Regions from separate parts of the Homo sapiens genome. Here all the other regions are linked to region 1. Evidence: promoter capture Hi-C in 16 types of primary human blood cells and fetal thymus (Javierre and others, 2016). All regions are on one chromosome and are shown on one strand. Each heading gives the region's core, a stretch centred on a gene start or on the middle of the fragment in contact. The rest is flanking DNA. Distances are from core to core; before and after follow the strand shown. Region 1 holds the start of VWA5A (von Willebrand factor A domain containing 5A). Region 2 has its middle 28 kb from the start of OR8B2. Region 3 overlaps OR8D1 (olfactory receptor family 8 subfamily D member 1). Region 4 holds the start of OR8G5 (olfactory receptor family 8 subfamily G member 5).

What was found. Contacts are between HindIII fragments. The CHiCAGO score rates a contact against its expected background, and 5 or more counts as called.
Region 2: a fragment that was not itself captured here is called in contact with the fragment with the promoter of VWA5A in region 1 in 1 of 17 cell types (total B cells); the score reaches 5.1 in total B cells.
Region 3: a fragment that was not itself captured here is called in contact with the fragment with the promoter of VWA5A in region 1 in 2 of 17 cell types (M2 macrophages and total B cells); the score reaches 6.2 in M2 macrophages.
Region 4: a fragment that was not itself captured here is called in contact with the fragment with the promoter of VWA5A in region 1 in 1 of 17 cell types (M2 macrophages); the score reaches 6.4 in M2 macrophages.

The regions. Positions count from the first base shown.
Region 1 is chr11:124,113,769-124,117,282 of GRCh38, reverse strand. It overlaps VWA5A (von Willebrand factor A domain containing 5A), which reads right to left and starts at 1,833. Exons shown (of 19, transcript NM_001130142.2): 1 at 1,801-1,833; 2 at 603-717. The HindIII fragment of the contact is 2,481 bases long and covers 1-2,125 here.
Region 2 is chr11:124,354,597-124,358,110 of GRCh38, reverse strand. It overlaps the pseudogene OR8B5P. Among named protein-coding and RNA genes, the nearest start is that of OR8B2, 28 kb to the left of the region's middle. The HindIII fragment of the contact is 197 bases long and covers 1,731-1,927 here.
Region 3 is chr11:124,307,342-124,310,855 of GRCh38, reverse strand. OR8D1 (olfactory receptor family 8 subfamily D member 1) reads left to right here. Exons shown (of 3, transcript NM_001002917.2): 3 at 74-3,514. The coding sequence starts at 90. The coding sequence ends at 1,016. Among named protein-coding and RNA genes, the nearest start is that of OR8D1, 4.8 kb to the left of the region's middle. The HindIII fragment of the contact is 1,486 bases long and covers 801-2,286 here.
Region 4 is chr11:124,254,320-124,257,833 of GRCh38, reverse strand. It overlaps OR8G5 (olfactory receptor family 8 subfamily G member 5), which reads right to left and starts at 1,458. Exons shown (of 2, transcript NM_001005198.2): 1 at 1,200-1,458. It overlaps OR8G1 (olfactory receptor family 8 subfamily G member 1), which reads right to left. Exons shown (of 3, transcript NM_001002905.2): 3 at 3,470-3,514. The HindIII fragment of the contact is 3,035 bases long and covers 71-3,105 here.

The DNA.
Region 1 (3,514 bases), core at 584-3,083:
GTATCTACTAAACAGGAAATCTCTGAAACACCCTGAGGCTGGTTCAAATACCAATTCCACTTTCTCAAAAGTGTATTTAATTCACCACTCCTTGGGCATATGGAGTAGGTGTCACTAATCCCTCTGAGCCTCAGTATTTTCTTTCCAAAATGAGTAGTATAATATCCACACATCGTATGTGAATTAATACATGTGAAGTCCCTACAATAGCACATGGGCCATAGGAGGCATTTAATCAATGATGACAGACATCACTATTGTCCCTATTATTGTTGTTACTGTTAATCAATAAACCTCTGCCACCATTCACTTTGGATCATGGCATTCAGAGACGCGCTGCATGTGAGAAGCTGTGTGATTCAAGATGGACTCCTGCCACAGGCCATTTACCTTGTGGCTTTTCTTTTGGGACCCAAAATTAAAAGATACGAGTATATTTGTTTGTATCCATCCAAGATATTCTAATATATTTAAATATTATATAGGCACATAGCCTACATTTGCACCCCCACTAAACAGCACCAATAAATCAGGCTTTTCATTCCATATCTGTTTTTATTTTGAGAAATTGGATAAAAACTGAGTGTGGCAAAATGACTCACAATTCGACAGCAACGCAGAGGACAGTGGCAGGTGTGAGGAGAGGAGAGGATGCTCAGAAAAGGGCTTCTACGCAGACCTCTGACCTGGGCAAGTTCTCTGGTAGAACAGGCTGGGCTGGGGGAGGGAAGAATTTCTAATAACACATTAAGCAGAGAGCCTAAAGCAGGAGACTCACACAGGAGTAAAACAGCTGAAAGAGAAGCTCTCAGGCTGGGCAATACTCACCAAGGTGGCTAGAGTAAAAGAGAGAGAGACGCAAAGGGCACCCCTACAAGGAAATAGCCTTCGCTTCCTGATTCTAAGCTCAGAACAAATCCTCCGTTGAGGAAAACTTGCTATTCTGCACCCTTGCCCCCACTCTTCCCAGTACAAACAAAATTAGTTTGGGTCAGAATTAGTTCTGTCTCTCAGGATGGCACTTCAGAAAGGCAACTTGCAAGGCTTAGGTAGAGACTGGCCACCAAGCTGAAAGCCATGAATCTGAGGCAGCTGGGAGAATACAAGGCTTCCGGCCTAGCCAGGTAGCTGCTTCAGGAATGCAGAGTCCCAGCACCAGCCGCTCAGCAGCTAGGAGGGTGGGAGGGGAGCTGGGTGGCACCACCGGCCACACACACCCCTGCGGCCTGTGGCAGGGGTGAAGTGGAGAACTCGGAACCAGACAAGGAGGAGATTTGGGGTAAGAAGTGGGGCTTGGATAAAATCAGAGATTGATTTAACCTTTCCATTCAGTCCTAGATTTCCAATGTCCACGTATTTACAGAAGAGACTGCGTCGGTCTCTTACATTTCTATAGAGAAGGGCTTAGGGGCTGCAACTGATTGGAGTAGATGAGGCTTACAGCCTCATTTCCTCAGCTTACACTATCCTGAAACTGAGAAAACATCAATTGTCTATATCAAAGAAAGAAAGCGGGAAAAAAAGTAAAGTAAAAGAGAAGGAAAGTAGGAAGAAGGGCCTTGAGATTAGGAGATGGCTAAATCCCTCCTTCAACCTCCAAAAGATTCCCCTAAACTGCCAAACTTGCAGGAACCTTCCTGGGGATCATACATCAGGATGAAATCCTCCACCCATGGGGCGTGCAATTCAAGGAGCCCCTACAAATTTGGGGACTGGGGAAAGGGAGCTAGAATGTGGAGCTCTCAGTCTTCCAGAGCAGGGGTTGGATCCAGGCCCTGCACCGGTAGCTTGGTCCCCTACCTTCCTCTCCTGCAGCCCGGAGCGCTCTGAGTCACAGCGGAGTGAAAACAGCTGCAGTCATAATTTCCGGAAAGAACCGCCCCCTTCTAGGGACCGGTTATAAAGTAGCGACTACAAGACTAAGGGATCAACGGAAAATTATTGAACAAATAATCGAACTTTCGCTTGTTTGTATCAAAGGAAAAGTCTTCGACTTTGGAACGTTTGGTTTTTTTCTTTGCTCTTTGCTAAGGAACAATCAGAGAACAGGCAAAGAGGGCAAGGGAAAATGCTGCAACAGGAACAACAACAATGACATTAAAAACTGCATATTTTTGTAAAAGCTTAATTGCCAAAGGCTTACTGTGTCCTGGGCCCTGTTAATCAAAGCTTTATGGAGATTATATCATTGACACCTTATCTCTAATGTGAGTCATTTTCCCCCAAGTTGCCCCTCCCCTACAGCAGGGGGAAAGATAAGGAGATAGTGCAAGGCACACACATCTGCTCTAATGAGAGAAGCTCTAGCCAGGGAAGCCCAAGTCTTCCTGTCATGGGTCGCTTATGGGATCCTGAAACCAAATGTTTGGGTTAACGATGTAAGTAACTGAGAATGTCTATGCTCATTTACCTGGCTAAAGGACATTAGAAGCGATCAAGGTCCCCATGGCTTCTCTATTTCAAAACAACCTATTAAATCTGAGACTTAAAGTGTCATATTGCTGTCGAGAATCTATAGGATAAAGAATACATGATACATATGGAAAACACAGCTTGATTTTGGTCTCTGTGATGTATTTTTTGTGGATATACTTGTTATATACTGGTTATATACTTGTTTTTGTGAGATATTTGTTATATACAAATAACTCTCCCCAAGTTATTTGTTCTCTCATCTGAAACGGGGATAATGACAAACCTCCACTGATTGTTTTTGTGAGATCTAATGAATCTTAGTGGCTATAAAAGTTTTATATATATATATATATATATATATATACACACACACACACACACACACACACATTTATATACTTTATATATATACACCCACATACACATTTATATACATGGATGTGCATGCATAGATGTATATATGTGTATATATGTACACCCATGCATGTATATACAGTTACATGCATGTAATATATGCATATATAGTAAAGCATAATATAAGCACAAATTCTATTTTATCAGTACTAGGCCCTACAACCATGTTTTTTACATGTACTGAACTAATTATGAGAGGAAATTATCCTTTTCTCTGGAGAGAAATCATGTCTGGTATTGTTCCTTGTGACTGTGCCTTCTTTCCATTGGCCGAAACATCTGAGCAACAAAAGGGAGGAGCTGGAAACGTGGGCAGAGTTCATCATCTGATCCTGCTGGGCTTAGAGCTTAGCACTAAAAGTCTGCCACAGACCAGGCATGCAGCGTGGTTAGAGGGCACTGAATCAGGAAACACACAGAAGTTGCTGGTTGTTGAAAAAACAACTATGTGAAAATTCCCATAACCTAGCACAATATACACAATTAAACCGATATAGATGAGATATCTTCACTTAAAAGTCTGTCTTAGTGTTGCCAGGCATTCCTCAAGGTTGATTCTCACCTTCTTTTTTATACTAACAGGAACCCCAAGTTTCACAATGTCTATGACCATTCAGAATAAAAACATTGCCTAGCCTCCCTTAAAGCTGGTGTGGCCTTGTAACTAAGCTCTGGCCCATAGGGT
Region 2 (3,514 bases), core at 580-3,079, 240 kb before region 1:
CCATCTGTTACCCACTTCTTTATCACATTGCCATGTCCCCTAAAGTGTGTTTCAGCCTTATGCTTGGTTCCTACTTCCTATCCTTTTCTGGGGCCATGGCCCACACTGGATGCATGCTGAGGCTGACCTGTGATGCAAACACCATCAATCATTACTTCCGTGACATCCTCCCTGTGTTCCAGCTCTCCTGCACCAGCACCTACATCAATGAACTGGTGGTTTTCATTGTGGCAGGCATCAATACCATTGTGCCCACTGTCACCGTCTTTATCTCTTATGGTGACATCCTCTCCAGGATCCTCCACATCAGTTCCAATGAGGGAAGGTCCAAAGCCTTCAGCACTTGCAGTTCCCACATAATTGCTGTTTCTCTGTTCTTTGGATTAAGTGCATTTATGTATCTCAAACCATCTTCTGCTGGGTCTATGGATGAGGGAAAATTCTCTTCTGTTTTTTATATGAATGGGCTTCCCATGATGAGCTCCTTAATCTACAGCTTAAGGAGGAAAGATGTTAAATTTGCCATGGGAAAATCTCTGAGTAGGAGAATGTTTTTGCCATAAACAACATTTCTCTGTGTATGTAGTTACAGGATGGGGATTCTCTGTATTTTATTATAATAATTGAGGAGGAAATAATTTTTCCTATTTGTTATCATGATGATGGTTAGTTGAGTATCATCCTGTCAATTTGTCTCCAATTTTTTATAGTAGATTTTTCCCCTCACCCTTTGCACATCTTTCCCCTTTTCATCATTTTTCCTGTGTAATAATAAAGAAAGTTTTTCTCTTTTTCCATTGTCATTATGGACTTCCTTTTTTCTTCTAGAAAAGATGATTGGTTTTTCAAATGATCAAGTAAAGTAAAATTAGGATAACAATGTTCCGCTGCATGTAAGAGCCTGACAACCTGTCTCTACTCGTCTTTCCATCCTCCACTGGGCAGCATCATGCATCCTTTAAACGTCAGCGTTTTCCAGACAGACAAGGTTCAACAAGACTTAACAAATACAGCCCACTTTGCAGTTTTAAATACTACACATGAAGCTTCTTTTGGCATTAATTTTACGTTTACCTTGGTATACCCCAAATAGCTTATATAGATCACCAGTATACACTGATTGCATCTATGAGGTGCTGAAACTAAGAGATGCTAATGATTCCCTTAAAGTCACACAATTTCTTTATAAAAAAGCCTAAAAAAATAAGTTAATAGACTCCTGATTTCAAGTCTACTACTTTTTCTGGTATGCTTTATTATTTCACTTATTAAACACGAGATACTATATGAGAAAACATTTCTTTTGGACAGTTGAGTGCACTTTGTTTCTAGATGATAAATAATCTCAGGATGGTTGTTGCTTTAGTTTTTTGTTCTGGGAAATTGTGTTTTTGGGTGAAATTGTGAAAGTGGAGATCTATTAAGCTGGGGTAGTTGCGAATTGATTGGCTCAAGTAGGGAGTTGATGTATTTTACAAAATCAAAAAGTATATTGAAATATTTTCTGGTGTTTATAACTCAGAGAATAGAGGCATAGGAGAGAAAAGAGCCTACCAATTTGTCATTTAGGCAAGAATCCAAAGAGACACATAGCCAATATACAAGAGGTCCCTCTGTGGGGATTATCAATTAGGATTTAGAAACCATCTGAAATTCTCAATTTAAATTCTCAGTCTGAATTTGTATCTGTTCTGTAAATTACTGTAACTATATTTTATTAGCATAAAGCTTTGATAAAATTTGTAATCCAAAACGACTATACATTAAATAATGTTTCGAGGAGTGAATGTGAGAAATCTATGGTCATATTTGTGGAGAACCAGGAAGGGAAAGAAAGGAAACTTCAACCAGAAAAATAATGAGTGGCAATTGGATTTCAAGTTAGGAAAGAGGAACTTAGAAAGTAGAACAATGGAAAATTAAAGCTTCTACCTATGACTCCTTTTTCTCTAAATTGGAAGGCCTTACAAATACTATGGTGATCATAGAATTTTTCTGAGTAGGACGAAGGCATAAGTTATCTGATATTAAAGAAAGGTTAAACCTGAGGGCTGGAGGACCTGCAGACAACTAAATCACTCATGGTTTTGTGGCTTTCATTAGGTATTTTCATTTTAAGGTATTAGAAACTCATATTGCAGTTGTCAGATAATATAAGCACGTAACAACATACGGGAGGGTGTGTTGTAGGTTATAAACATGAAACAAATAAGGGCAATGAATTGGAGTGAGCTAAGAGGAAAGTAGTGCTGAGTAAAAAAAAAAAAAGTGATTTCATCTGAAAGATTACAGAGCATTATGCATTATATGGCCATGTATATCATAATGTTAAAATTACGTAACTACGCAGACTATGTGTGTGTGTGTAATATATTTTTTGACAGGCATTTCTGGAGTCACTAACTGTGTGATAATGATTGTACCTAAAAGTCAAACAGGCACTGTTAGAAAAGGAGGGGAGAAGAAAGTTCCCGATCTTTTAGGCCTGGTGGAATGTGTTATTTGTGATGTAAAATTTTGAATAGAATATTAAGCCTCCAAAGACAGCAAGGCAAAAGCACCTTGGTCTGTGTATAAACGACTTCATAATTATGTCTTTATTAAAGCACTTGAATTATAGATAGGCTCCTGGAGAAGCCACTATATCAGAATAAAATAGCTTACATGATGCTACCTGTAATTATTATAATATCTCAAAAACAGAGATTGCTGTTTAGATGCCTTGTTTTTGGTTACATGATTACTTCTGGGCAAAATCGTAATTAAAAATCATGACTTTTATTTGACTGACATCAAAGACTGAGACTTATAAGTGCCCTTAGCATCTCTACAGAAAAAGAAGAGGAGGAGCGTTAGAATAATCCTTAGGCCACTATGACCATAAGTGTACAGTTTTTGTGTGTGAGCAGAAGCTTTTATTTTTGTAGGCAAATACCTTAAATTGTGACGACCTTAAGAGAAACTACGAATGGTTTTCTAACAGATGCACCATGTTGCATTCCCACCACTGATGAATGAACATTTCAGCTGCTCTGTGTACTCATTAGCATTAGATTTAGTCACTTTGTTTATTTATTTTCACTTTTCTAATAGGTTTTTAGTGGTATGTCATTGTGATTTTAATTTGACTTTCCCTAATAACTAAAGATGTTGAGGATCCTTTCATGAGTTTATTTCCCATCCATATGCCGCTTTTGGGCAAAGTGTCTAGGTACAACCTTTGTTCATTTATTTAATCAGTTGTTGCTTTACTTATTTTTGAGGTTTACTGGTTCTTTACAGATTCTGGATGTATATTACTTAATAGAAGTATGATTTGAAAATATAACCTTCCAGTGTTTGGCTTGTTTCATTCTTTGAGTATTATCTTTCTTAGAGGAAAGGATTTTAACTTTGATAATGTCTAATTAACTATCTTTTTTTCTCTGATGGACTCTGTTTTTGGTAGCTTATCAGGAATCTTTGCCTTACTCTATGTCAAAAAGTTTTCCCTTTGCTCCCTTCTAAAAATCTT
Region 3 (3,514 bases), core at 294-2,793, 190 kb before region 1:
TATGCAATTTGGTTTTGTTTGGAAGAGCAGTGAGGGTCCATGTTAAGGTAATTCATACTTTCTATTTTCACAGAAATGCCTAAAGAAGAATGACCATGGAAAATTATTCTATGGCAGCTCAGTTTGTCTTAGATGGTTTAACACAGCAAGCAGAGCTCCAGCTGCCCCTCTTCCTCCTGTTCCTGGGAATCTATGTGGTCACAGTAGTGGGCAACCTGGGCATGATTCTCCTGATTGCAGTCAGCCCTCTACTTCACACCCCCATGTACTATTTCCTCAGCAGCTTGTCCTTCGTCGATTTCTGCTATTCCTCTGTCATTACTCCCAAAATGCTGGTGAACTTCCTAGGAAAGAAGAATACAATCCTTTACTCTGAGTGCATGGTCCAGCTCTTTTTCTTTGTGGTCTTTGTGGTGGCTGAGGGTTACCTCCTGACTGCCATGGCATATGATCGCTATGTTGCCATCTGTAGCCCACTGCTTTATAATGCGATCATGTCCTCATGGGTCTGCTCACTGCTAGTGCTGGCTGCCTTCTTCTTGGGCTTTCTCTCTGCCTTGACTCATACAAGTGCCATGATGAAACTGTCCTTTTGCAAATCCCACATTATCAACCATTACTTCTGTGATGTTCTTCCCCTCCTCAATCTCTCCTGCTCCAACACACACCTCAATGAGCTTCTACTTTTTATCATTGCGGGGTTTAACACCTTGGTGCCCACCCTAGCTGTTGCTGTCTCCTATGCCTTCATCCTCTACAGCATCCTTCACATCCGCTCCTCAGAGGGCCGGTCCAAAGCTTTTGGAACATGCAGCTCTCATCTCATGGCTGTGGTGATCTTCTTTGGGTCCATTACCTTCATGTATTTCAAGCCCCCTTCAAGTAACTCCCTGGACCAGGAGAAGGTGTCCTCTGTGTTCTACACCACGGTGATCCCCATGCTGAACCCTTTAATATACAGTCTGAGGAATAAGGATGTGAAGAAAGCATTAAGGAAGGTCTTAGTAGGAAAATGAGTCCTGATTTGGGGGATTTATAGATGGGAAAAATGAATAGTTCCAATGAACATATATTCCTTTTTTCTATTTTCATGTTCTTCTGTTGTAACATACATAATATCTAGATTTTAAAAATACTTTCCCATCTATGATTGATTCAACTTTCTCAACAAAATAAAAGAATTGTGTAAAGCAGGTATTAACATTCTTATCTTTTGATAGGAAAACTAAGGTCTAGGTAGTTTTAATTTCTTTTACCAATTGTGATAGAAAAGACATGAGAATTCAGATTTTCTCCAATGTTAGTCCTCTCTTCCTAATATCCCATGTTTGCTTGTTGAATACTTGCTATGTGGGAGGTACTGAGTTGTCCACTGATATGAATGCTAAGAGGTATGTTAGCCTGATCCCAGATATCTATTAATTCTTCAGGGAATTAGACAAATACACAAGGGAAAAGAACAGAAAAGAAAAGAAAAAAGAAAAGAAAAGGAAAGAATAGAAAAGAAAAGAAAAAGTTAAGAACAAGAATGGCAATTCTAGTCAGCAGGTCTTATTCGAATCGCTTTTACTATTTTTTTTTCTACTCAGTATATTAAAAATCTCTTTATTTTCATTTCCTTGTTGTTCTTCATGGATCTGGTTTTGTTTTTTTTGTATTTGTATATCTACTTTAACACCACAGTTCTACACTAAGGGACCTCTGACCATGTGTTTTCACTATCTATTGCAATGGAGTTGCCTAAGGTTGAAAAACCTTCCTCATAGGGAAGATATAACCCCCACATTTGTTTCAGTTGGAGAACTGTCCTCTGCAGATTCCTGAACTGAAGCTGTGGTCCATGTTTTTGAGCATGTGACCTTACAGTAAAAGTAGGTACCAAGAGCTCTGTATACAATGCTTTTCTTGGGTTTTCACAGGTCTTAGGTCTCATGTAACATTTCCTTCTGTTTTTGTTTTTAGCTTTTGTATGTTGCTGGGTAGTAATAAGATGCCTCTACTGTTCTGCATCCCTCAGCTGTTTTCTCTTCTTCCCAGGAATATTCCATTGAATTTCTAGCATTTTAACTTCCATATCAAGTTAGTTTTCTTCACTCTATATCACATATTAAACCATTAGTGTTTGCTGAAATTAGTTGCCTTTCTCCCTTTACTTTTTCTTTGTTTTTGCCAAAATAATTTTTACAACCTAATACTCTAGATTTTAGCTTAAAGAATCATTCCAAGCAAGAAATAAGAAATCAGTAAATTTTGTATCTACCAAAATCCTACTGTTCTAACAAAGCTTGTCTACCTTTAGCTCCTACATTTTGATAATCTCACCCAGAATACATCTTCCTATCAGTTTGTTGAACCAGGTCCTAAACATTTACCGTGGCCTTGCTCACCTTCCCCTTAATACATCTTCTCTTCTGTATGCCTTGCTCTAATATTTTTTAATGTTATCTTAGAGTTTCTCAGATACAGTGCCTATATCTTCTCAAGTCCTCCCATTCCTTAAGATCTTTTTGAGGGGGACACATAGTACTTACTCTTTTTCAGCAGCTTTAATAGTGCAATTAACACTTTTCTGAATCCAGGATCCTGACCTTCAAATTATCATTTGGTGCCACATAGTTTTCTAACCTGTCCTCTTCTCTCTCTTATTCCAGTTTAATTAACTTATTTTACTTTTAGTCTCATTTTTCTTCTGCTCTTGTTAGGGTTATAAAACTGAAGCATTCTTTCTAAATCACTTTATTTTCTAAGCAGATTTGATTCTTAGAAACAGGGTGTTCCAAACCCAGATTTTAAAACTGTATTCTTAGTTGTTAGCTTTGCAATAATTCAATTGAACTGTTTCTCTTTCTCAGTATATTTAGATGCAATATTATTTTTATGCTAAGACCCTCTTCCCCCGTTATTTTTATTTTTATTTTTTATTTTTTGGTTCATGAGTGAAATCTACCACCCCTTTAAAGGGAAAGCTCCAATTTAGAAGATGGGTATTTGTAGCCCTGCTCAGAACTTATACATTTAACAAATCCAGGGAGAGCTTGAGACCATTTGGTGAGAGTTAACCCTCAAGCATGTGGACAAGCTGGAAAACTGTGAAAATAACCAATTATTATCCCATCCCCTGTGTCTAAAATACCTTTATATGAAAATATTCTCTTTTCCCTATAATCATATCATGACTTTCTTGAAAAAAGCTTCCCCTTTGTGTTCAATTTTAAGCTGCACCAATATTTTCTGATTCTTAAGTGGCTTTCGCAGTTGCTAAGGTTGCTCAAACTATCCAGCCTACAATTACTTAGGATTATAGGACCCAGGGCTTTGTGGAGCCTCACTTTGCTCACATTTTTCAGAAGACAGCCTTTCCTGAGGCATTTGCCTTTTGCTTAGGGCCTAGCACTAGCAGCATGATCTCCAGGGGAATGAATCTGTGCTCTTCTAAAGTTATTCACTTATTTGTAAACAACTCTTCTGTATATGCACCAGTGGAAGTTAAAATCTTACATTGTCAGAGGTCAGG
Region 4 (3,514 bases), core at 339-2,838, 140 kb before region 1:
CTTGTCTCTCAGATCCTCTTCCCCAAAGTACTGGGTGGGACTCTTTGGAATTTCCTTATCTAACTAAGCTTCTTTCCCAAAGAAATGCAGTTGTCTTAAGACCCCCTTCTTTGGAATCCAGGAAAGATAACCAGGAAAGATTAACCACCAGAGAAGAGACTGGGAGTCATCACCATGCACAGACAGACTTTTCATCTGCTATTCTCAAGGCAGCTCCAAGAGATTACCTGGGGGACTTTATCTGCATAATAAGACAACCTGTGTCCCCATGCATTTCCACCCCTCACCTTCCATAACTTGTCCGTCTCATCCAGCTTCCAAAGATAATCATTTACAAAATAATGTCTACCTCTTGCGTCCACACATCTCTCTTCCATGAAGAGAGTATTTAAGCCTCAACCACCTGGTCCTTCTTGGGTTTCATACTTAGTGTATGACTTCCATGTATATACACATTAAATAAATTTTGTATGCCTTTTTCTCCTATTAAAAAAGAATACACCCTTTAATCAATATAAAAATATTCTAATAACTTGAGATCTTAAAAAAGGAAGAGGCTATTTATTTCTGGCCATTAAATATATTTAACCACAGCATGACGATCCATCTTCAGAAAAATTAGGGAAAAGATTTTCTTAATTTATCTTATGATTAAAAACAAATATCCACTATCTCTCATCTCTTTCTACTCTTAGGTCTTGTATCTTCCTCCTTTGTGAGAGAAATATTTGGCTTCATTCAGTTCCTGGAATTTGTCACATTCACTTAGCTGTCTGACTTTTTGTTTACTGTTCCTTCTACATTAAATAGTCTTACCAATTACACTTTCTGTTGTCTGGCAAACATTTGTTTTCTTTCATATCTCATTCAAAACTATAATAATCATAGAACCATTCTCCAATTCCTTGTAATTGATTGGACCTTTCTACTGCATGCTCAGAAAATTCTAATTTCTAAACAGCACATTTTTAGACTGAACTGTACTGTAAGCCAGGCTGTGGATCAGACATCCTCTCTTCTGTATTCCCAGTATTAGCCCATATCTGGCAAATCACTGAAAGTTTAAAAAGTACTTTTAAGAATAAATGATTGATTAAATGAATGAACGAAAGTATTCACAAATATTTCCTACAGTTTTTACAGTGATTACTTCTAGACCTAATAGCATCAAATCATAAGTGTGAGATGAACACACTCACCTTTCTTTTGCCTGAAACCTCAGTTCCAAATTTTATTTGCAACTTGCTGTCTTTGACTTGGAGAATGGCACTAATGCTGCTGTTGGAAGTCATAGGTACCAAGCCAGCGTTCTGTAGTCTTTAGTCCTGAGACTGCAAAGCACAAGACATCTCACTCACTTTTGAAATCAATCTGCACCGCTGATCAGCATCTCCAGTTGTCACTTTTCAGTTGTGTTTCTCTAGCTCTAGCACACATCCTCCCCTTTTACAGTGGCCTGAGCAGTTTTGATTGCTAAACCTGGGTTTAGATACGCCAGGTACCAAATATCATGCAGACAAACATTCTCCAAGGATTTCCATTTCTCTGGGAACACAAGCTCCTGAGAAAAGAAGCAATTACTGTTGGCATTTACCCAATTGTCTAATTTTTCTTCAGGGGAATTTTTGTCAATTCTAAACTTGTCGATTAGCAATAAAGATTTGTGCCTACTGGCAATAAAGGATTTTGTGAAAAGGTATATTCTGATCCAGCAAGTCTGAGTGCGGTTTGAGATTCTGCATTTCTTAGAAACTACAAGCCAGTACTATTTGTTCACAGCCCAGACTATTATTAGCTGATTTTAGAGGACCAAGACACTTCCTGAAAAGTTATATCTTACTCATATTAGTGTTAGAAATTTTAAAATAATAAATCAAATCACTGCTTGACAGATCTCATGCTTATATTTCAACAGCTTCTCCAAAACCAATGAACTATCTTCCTTTGTTGCTAAATTGAATATTTGCAGGAAAGCAATAAAACAGCCTAAATATAATTCATGTAATCCTCCATTGTGGCCGGGGAGCAGTGGACTGTGATTGATCTACACTATTGTACTTCATGGTTGAGGTGGTGAAAGTCAAATTCAATACTGGTCAACAGTATAATGTGACTTTTAAAAAAGACTCAATATATCTTTAGTCTTCACTTGCAAAAAAAAAAAAAAATGGTCCTAGAAAATGGAATTGCTTAGTCTTATTTAACACTCAACAATAGTTGGACTACTGTTTAGTTTGGAGTACCATAATTTTGTGGGGTATAGAAAAACTGGAAAATTTCAGGAGAAAAATGTTCTGGAAATTTTGTCATTTGAAGATTGTCAGAGAGAACTGAAGATATTTAGCTAGCACAGTAATACTCTGTTTGACACATGATAGCTATCTTCAAATATTCAGCATATTCCTATATTTAGGAGATGTTGAATTCATTTTCTTCATGTCTAAGAAATTGCTGTAATACTAACTGCTAGAAACTATGGTAAGACACATTTTGTTTCACAACAAAGAAGAGCATACAAATACATCCAGAAATGGAAGCAGTTACCTTAATGTGCAGGACTTACAACCAGAAATGTTAGAGCATAGCCTATGTAACCACTGAGCAGATATTTTTCAAGTACACAGTACAATATGAGTAATTGGGTTAAATCATTTTTAACATCTCTTCCAGTTCTAATATTTCATGACTTGATATAAAAATTCCAGTATATCCTGATATTCGGTTGGACAGTCCTAGGTTCAAATCTCAGCTTAACTCCATACTTGCTGTGTGACTTTAAGAAAATCACTTCCACCAAGAAAAGCTGGCCATAACTGGGCATTAGGAAGAGGCATGAAATTTTCCTCAGAGCTCTCAGGAGGAACCACCTATGCTGACATCTTGATTTTTTGACTTCTAATTCCCAGAACTATGAGACAATAAATTTCAGTTGTTTAAAGCTGCCCAGAGTATGATACTTTGTTACAGCTATTCTAGAAAATGAATGCACTGTAAGACATGGAAGTTTTTATTTTCATTGACCTCTACTAACTGTATTAAATATCGTAATGTACTCATAAAACACCAATGCTTGGATAATTTTAGTTTGAGGGCTAAATGAAAGCTTCTGGTAGATGTTGGTGTAAACACAAGAGGTGTTCCTAGGGAACTGCACAAAGGAGAAATGATAAGGTTTTCTTCTAAAAATAAAAATGTTGAGGAACAAAAGAAACACATGCACTGTACAGGTTATTTTAGTTCCATATATAGACTAATTAACTTGTTTGGAAATAAAGATTATTAAACTTTTTACTCAAAATATTTATTAGTATTATATCATTTTGAGATAATAATTTACAATAGATTTTCTTAATCAAATTTGCTTTGAAAGAAAATATTTGCAAACCATACATCTCACAAGCGATTGATATCCTACATATATAAGAAATGCAAACATCTCAATGGTAAGAAAACAAACAGATTTAAAAATAGGCAAAGCATCTAAATAGACATTTCTCAAAAGAAGACATAAAAA